Linked DNA regions of Homo sapiens: region 1 is linked to region 2. Evidence: promoter capture Hi-C in 16 types of primary human blood cells and fetal thymus (Javierre and others, 2016). All regions are on one chromosome and are shown on one strand. The core of a region is centred on a gene start or on the middle of the fragment in contact, and the rest is flanking DNA. Distances in the headings are between cores, read along the strand shown. Region 1 has its middle 2.4 kb from the start of INSM1. Region 2 holds the start of NKX2-4 (NK2 homeobox 4).

Region 1 (3,349 bases), core at 497-2,996, 1.0 Mb after region 2:
AGCAAAAGGGTTCCCCGGGGTTCCAAGTGTGGACAGGGGGCCCGGCCTTCTGGCAGTGGCCGAGGGCGATGTTTGTGCTCGCAGCCTCCGCGCGCCCACGGGGCTAGAGAAGGTTTCTTTCGAGTTTGAGAAGGAATTGGCACGGCCTTCTCAGTCTCCCGAAAGCGCGGGATTGGAGCGCGGGCGGGCTGGGCTGGGTTCCCAGAGGAACGTGAATTTCTGAACTTTTGGGTTCTTGGAGGCTTGGGAATGGCATCTTTGGCGGGGCCCGACCCAGGCCGCCCGGAGCTTCCGCGTGGTCCAAGGCTCGGTTAATCCGGGTCGAGTTGGCCGAAGCCCGAAACGCGCGGTCGGCCTCGTGCGCCCCAGTGAAGTTGGCTTTCTCCTCCCCGCGCGGCCTCATGCATTTTCATTCCGAGCGGGCATTTTGTTTGCCGGTTGACATCAGATGCTAAATCAAGGGCTCCAATCAAGGCGCTGCGAAATAAAGGGGCTGCCTGTCTGGGCGCAGCCCCCACGGAGCCGTGCCCCCTTCACCTTTGTGAAGGAAATTAACCTCCTGCTATTGAGCTCCGGTCGCGGCCAATCTGGACGCAAAAGAGACGCGTGCTGGACGGGGGGAGGGGGGGCAATCTGTACTCTGAGGCAGGCTGAGGCCTCCGAGAGGACAAGCCGCCTCCCCTGTGCCACCAGGAAGAGACAACAGCGAAGATTCCCCCCGCCCCCACCCCCACCCCCACCTCCGCTGCCGTTCCGTTTGGACCCAGACTGGGCCGCCTGCCTCCATCCTCTGTCCAGCCCAGCCCCGAGGAAACACAAAAGGCAGAATCTTCGGGGGACAGGGCAGAGAACCCCACGAGTGCGTAGTGGCCCTGATCGTCCAACACTGGGGAACAAATAGCCAAGCCACATAAAATGTCATATGCTGTGAGGAAAATGTCACTTTATTGAAAGAGAAGGAAACATTTTTCTGCAAAGCTTTGTATACCAGACAGATTTTGCTGAGTTTTACTTACGCTTAATTCCACTGAAGGTATTTAATTGTTTTGGATTTTCCCTCTGAAAATACCCTGGCGTAGAAATTAAACATGTAAAAATAGAGTCCACATGAGTCATAAGTTGTGATGGGGACAGTTGTTAGGCTTAATTAATTAAGGGGTTAATCAGGTTGGTTAATCAAGGGAAAGATATTTGATAATTTTATGTTTGTAATATTTTAACTCACACACTGAAAAGGGAAGAATGCATATAGTGAAATATATTTTGAAAAGTCTCACCCTAGTTTTAAAAATGCTGTGGTGAGTGCTAGTCTCCCCAAAAGTTAGAAATCTTAAAATGAGTTTATCTAAAATTTATAAACATATTTCTATCTAAAAGTAACTGATGTTATTTCCTTGCTCTTTTGAGCTCTGATTAATAGTGCTGATGAAATTAGAAGTGGGAAAAGGATTCCGAGACAGCTTTGGCCAATTTTATTTTCTAATCACGAATCCCATCTGGATTGTAGAATAGCATAGGGCGGGGGCTCGGCCTGCCCCATTCGGTCTTGCATATGTAACACTCCTTCCATTCAACAGATAACAGAGAGTTAGTCACCTTGTGAATCCTTTAAAAATAACAACACCCATAATTGTAAATAAGCCGTGGGGATGGGAAACCGGCACCTCTACCAACAAAAAAAACAAAACAACTCCTGCGTGAGTGAATTCAAACAGGGCTCTGAATTTAGCCAAGGGAATCTATTAAACGCTACTGAGATACTGAGATTCAATGAATCCGTTTCTTTTTCTTTATTTGTGGCTTCCAGTCTTGCTAGCGTAAATGAAATCTGCTTTCAGACGGGTACAGTCAAAATAAATGGAAACTTGAAAGGTACTAGTATTGGAAACTAATTTCACCACCCGGGGCTGGAAGGAGTTAGGCTGCGCACGCGCGCACGCACACACCAGCGACCTCCAAGCAGGTGTAGCCCAGCCCGGGCCGTGGATCGCAGCCGCCTTCTGCGTGATTTTCTCAGAACCTGTGCACCCGCATGCATGGGGACATCGGGTCGAGATATTTGTCTTCGCCTGGGAAGAGCAAAGCGCCATCACAGTGCGCCCCCGACGCCGGCCTTGGCGCACGCGATTCGGAGAATGGGCCGCGTGAAGTTAAGTTGGGGGAAACAGCGCGGATTTGCCCCCCTCCAGGGGGGCTTCGCGAAAGTCAGTGAACATAAGGATCCAAGGCAGAGCACCCAAGGGGCCTTCCCCGGCTTCAGGTGACTCCTCCCCTTCCTTCGGGGTCCTGGCCAGCGCTTTGGAAAAATCCCGGGCCTCTTCACTTTCCCTTGCGGACCCCGCGGTGGGTTCTTCCTCCGACGACTGCGGAGCCCGAGGCCCCAGGCCCTCCAATTTCTCCTATCCTGGTGTGCGGGGATGCCGTCGGGGAGCGCGCCGGGGTTCACTCTGACCCTCACCACGGCTGGAAATCAAAGTCAAGGCAACAGGGAGTTTGTAGAAAGCGCGAAGCTTGGAAATAAGAGCAGAAGCGGGGAACTTCTGCGGAGGAGTTGGCTCCTTGGGGTGTCTAGGAGAACAGGAGGCCCTGGCCTCACGGGAGGAGCCGGGCGGGCCCGCATTCTCACCCCGCAGAGGGTATCGCGTTTGGAGACGTCGGCGTTGGGGGTGAGGTGTCAGCGCCCCTCATCACCACTCTGCTGCAGACTTCTCTTCTGGCTTCACAGAAGCCCCCACTCCCGGCCCTCAGTCCCCCGAGCCACAACCGGCAGGAACCGTGCGTTACCGCTGCAGTGCCCGCCGCCCGGAGGGACCAGCGCCTCCCTGCGCCGGGTGCGCCCGACCCGAGCCGGTGAGAGGCTTTGTATTTGCAGGAATGAGGGGTTGTTGTGTCAGTCCCAGGGGCACGCGAGAGACACGCGCAGCCCGCCTGGCCGCCACCCCGCCCGGCCCGGCCCCAGGCACCTTCCGGGCCTCCCGCCCGCGGGCCGTTGCCTTTGTTCGGCGCATTAGCATAAAGCTGCCAGGGATCTCCCGTTTAGATAATTCCACACAAAAGGAGAGTGCATGAAAGAGAGCGAACAAGGGACGATCCGCGAGGCTGCGTCGTGCGTCCTCGCGGGGAGGGACCGCGCTCAAGTATTTCCCTCCCCTCGAGTTTCAAGTGCCCCCTGGCAATCTGCTGCGCGCCCATTATTCGGCCGGGGGCCGACGGCGTGGCTGGCCACCTCTTTTATCCCCCCGAGAGTACCGTCGGGGCCACTGCACGCTCCTTGAAGTGCCCTCAGGGCTGTTTGTTTTTGCCTCAGTGGGACCGTCGGGCCAGGGAGGGAGGAGAGCGGGTAGGAAGG
Region 2 (3,162 bases), core at 149-2,648:
AACTTAAATCGATTCCACACACCCTTTTCTGGAAAAAAAATAAAACAAAATATTGCTTAAGAAAGCACTCTCCTTGTTTTTCTTTCTCCTGCTCCAGTTTCCAGGAAAACTTAAAAGTGTTATCTTTGTTTTCTCGTTATCATTATTATTGCTGCAAGATTGTTTTCAAAATTTAATCAATATGCTTTGCACACTGCTTTTGTCTTATGCTTTGTCTTGTTCAGTATTTAGTAGAGAGTTCATAATGTCTAAGTATTCGGGTAAAACTGCAAGTCAAAGGATGACAAAGTTTTAAAAATCTGTTTATCTATGGTTTTGTATTTTTCCAAAGAAACTACAATTTTCACCTGATTTCTGCATCCATTTTCATATCGCTTGAACAGGTTATATTTTTCCAACAACAACAAAAAGACCCGTTGCGAACAACTAGAAATATTTGGAAGTTTTGATATTTTGTCTTTCTCTTCTTTTTGATCACGGTAGTGATGGGAGAATAAACTTAAGTCAGAGATATTTACTGAGAGAAAGAGAGTAAGAACACACACAAAGGGAAAGAAAGCAGAAAAAACTTTACAAGTGCAAACTCAGTAGGAAACATTTTAGGAAATAAAAATGTTCCCCCTCTTTCCCTTGTTCAATTTCCATCCCCACAGAGGAAAAACAGAATACTTACAAGTTAGCATCTGCGTATTTATCAGTGTATGTGTGTTTTCTCTCTTCTCTGGGCTTGGATACTTTGAGCTAATTTGGAAGTGCCCGTTTGGTTGCCCACAAAATGATGCTTAAGGGTCTAAAAACGCATAAATTAGGGAGCCCTACAATGGCAAAGGACGGTCATTGTACCTCCTCTCTTTATGCGCTCTTACGGTGGGACCCAAGAGCCTTTTTTTTTTTTTTTAACACTTTAGGTGATGGAGCGAATGAGGGGCTGATAACTGGAGAGGACGAAGCAAGCCCCCGCAACACCCTCCCCCCAAACTTAGCAGCACGTTCCCCATTCCGCAATTATACCGGACTTTGGTGCGAAGTCACTTTAGAAAACTGGGATCTGGAAGGGGCCAGGCGCGGAGTCCATGTCTAGCCTCGACGCCAGCCTCCGAGTTTCTATTTCTGGTGCTCGAGGGCTGGGGTAACGGCCGCGGATGGAGGAGCGAAGGATGGGAAAAGCAAAGGATGGGAAAAGCAAAGATGGGAAAAGCAACGGGGAGTGATCTTTCCAAGAAACACCCAACTGCCCCTTTTACCTTTTTTTGCCTCCATTATGGGGCGGGGGTTGGGGGGGCGAGAGAAAAAGATGTCAATGACCATTGTTTGCTCGTTTGGGATGTTGCTCCGCCCCCCGAGTCTGTCGTAAACCTGGCGCCGGACTAAAATAAACCCCAGATCCCGCAGCCCGGGGGGCTCGCCGAGCCGCCGACTCCTCGTCACAGGCTCAGCTGCCGCGGCCGAGGTGGCGGCGACGAGCGGCCGCCGCGTCCTGCCGGCGCGCGCCCCAGGCCCCCCTACCTGGCTGCCCGCCGAGCCATGTCGTTGAGCCCAAAGCACACGACGCCCTTCTCCGTGTCCGACATCCTGAGCCCCATCGAGGAGACCTACAAGAAGTTCAGCGGCGCCATGGACGGCGCGCCACCCGGCCTGGGGGCGCCCCTGGGGGCCGCGGCCGCCTACCGCGCGCCGCCACCTGGGCCCTCCTCGCAGGCGGCGACCGTGGCGGGCATGCAGCCTTCTCACGCCATGGCGGGTCACAACGCGGCGGCCGCGGCGGCGGCGGCAGCAGCTGCGGCGGCGGCGGCCGCCACCTACCACATGCCGCCCGGCGTCTCGCAGTTCCCGCACGGCGCCATGGGCAGCTACTGCAACGGCGGCCTGGGCAACATGGGCGAGCTGCCCGCCTACACGGACGGCATGCGGGGCGGCGCGGCCACCGGCTGGTACGGCGCCAACCCGGACCCACGCTACTCGTCAAGTGAGAGGGGCCAGGAGCGCGGGGCTGCGGGCGGCTCAGGCGTTTCCCGCCACAGCCGAGGGGCGCGGGGGCGCGGGACGGGGTGCGCGCGGCTTAGGAGGTCCTGGGGCCGAGCGGGCGCGCGGGGCGTCCTGGGACGCGGCCCGGGACGCGCGGGGTTTCTGGGGACCCTGGGCGCGCGGGGGGTCCTGGGACCTGACCGGGAACGCGCGCGGCGTCCTGGGACCCGTTGAGGGCGTGGTGCTCTGGGACCCGCCGAGGGCGCGCGGGGCGTGCTGGGGCCGGAGGCCGCGGCGGTCAGGGGGTCTTGGGATTCAGCGAGGGCCCGGCGGCGTCGCGGCCGCGGCGTGAAGAGAGCGGCGGCTGGACCGGCTCCCGGCGGGCCTGGAGCTCACTCGCCTTCCCCCTTGGGACTCTTCCCCAGTCTCCAGGTTCATGGGGCCGTCGGCGGGCGTGAATGTGGCCGGCATGGGGTCGCTGACCGGCATCGCGGACGCCGCCAAGTCGCTGGGCCCGCTGCACGCGGCGGCGGCGGCAGCCGCTCCGCGAAGGAAGCGCCGCGTGCTCTTCTCGCAGGCGCAGGTCTACGAGCTGGAGCGGCGCTTCAAGCAGCAGAAGTACCTGTCGGCGCCCGAGCGCGAGCACCTGGCCAGCATGATCCACCTGACGCCCACGCAGGTCAAGATCTGGTTCCAGAACCACCGGTACAAGATGAAACGGCAGGCCAAGGACAAGGCGGCGCAGCAGCTGCAGCAGGAGGGCGGCCTGGGCCCGCCGCCGCCTCCGCCGCCGTCCCCGCGCCGCGTGGCGGTGCCTGTGCTGGTCAAGGACGGCAAGCCGTGCCAGAACGGCGCCAGCACGCCCACCCCCGGCCAGGCCGGTCCGCAGCCGCCGGCCCCGACGCCAGCACCTGAGCTGGAGGAGCTGTCGCCCAGCCCACCCGCGCTGCACGGCCCGGGGGGCGGCCTGGCGGCCCTGGACGCGGCCGCCGGGGAGTACAGCGGCGGCGTCCTGGGCGCCAACCTGCTCTATGGCAGGACGTGGTGACAGCGAGGGCGCCCCGGGGCTAGGTCCTGGTGCACCCGAAGGGTCTGCAAGAAACTGCTAGAACGGATGGGGGAGGCATGCGAAAACCGACTCGCGCGTGTAAACTGCGATTCAAAACGAACCGGTCTCAGAGAGGAGCAGGCTGTGAA

The links. The method cuts DNA at HindIII sites, captures the fragments that hold promoters and counts their contacts. A CHiCAGO score of 5 or more calls a contact.
Region 1: a fragment that was not itself captured here is called in contact with the fragment with the promoter of NKX2-4 in region 2 in 1 of 17 cell types (total B cells); the score reaches 6.6 in total B cells.

The regions. Positions count from the first base shown.
Region 1 is chr20:20,364,077-20,367,425 of GRCh38, reverse strand. No RefSeq gene overlaps it. Among named protein-coding and RNA genes, the nearest start is that of INSM1, 2.4 kb to the left of the region's middle. RefSeq lists an enhancer at 1-229. The HindIII fragment of the contact is 1,532 bases long and covers 981-2,512 here.
Region 2 is chr20:21,395,762-21,398,923 of GRCh38, reverse strand. NKX2-4 (NK2 homeobox 4) reads left to right here and starts at 1,398. Exons shown (of 2, transcript NM_033176.2): 1 at 1,398-1,966; 2 at 2,391-3,162. The coding sequence starts at 1,525. The coding sequence ends at 3,013. It overlaps LOC105372558 (a long non-coding RNA gene), which reads right to left and starts at 990. Exons shown (of 4, transcript XR_001754528.1): 1 at 348-990. The HindIII fragment of the contact is 6,496 bases long and covers 1-3,162 here.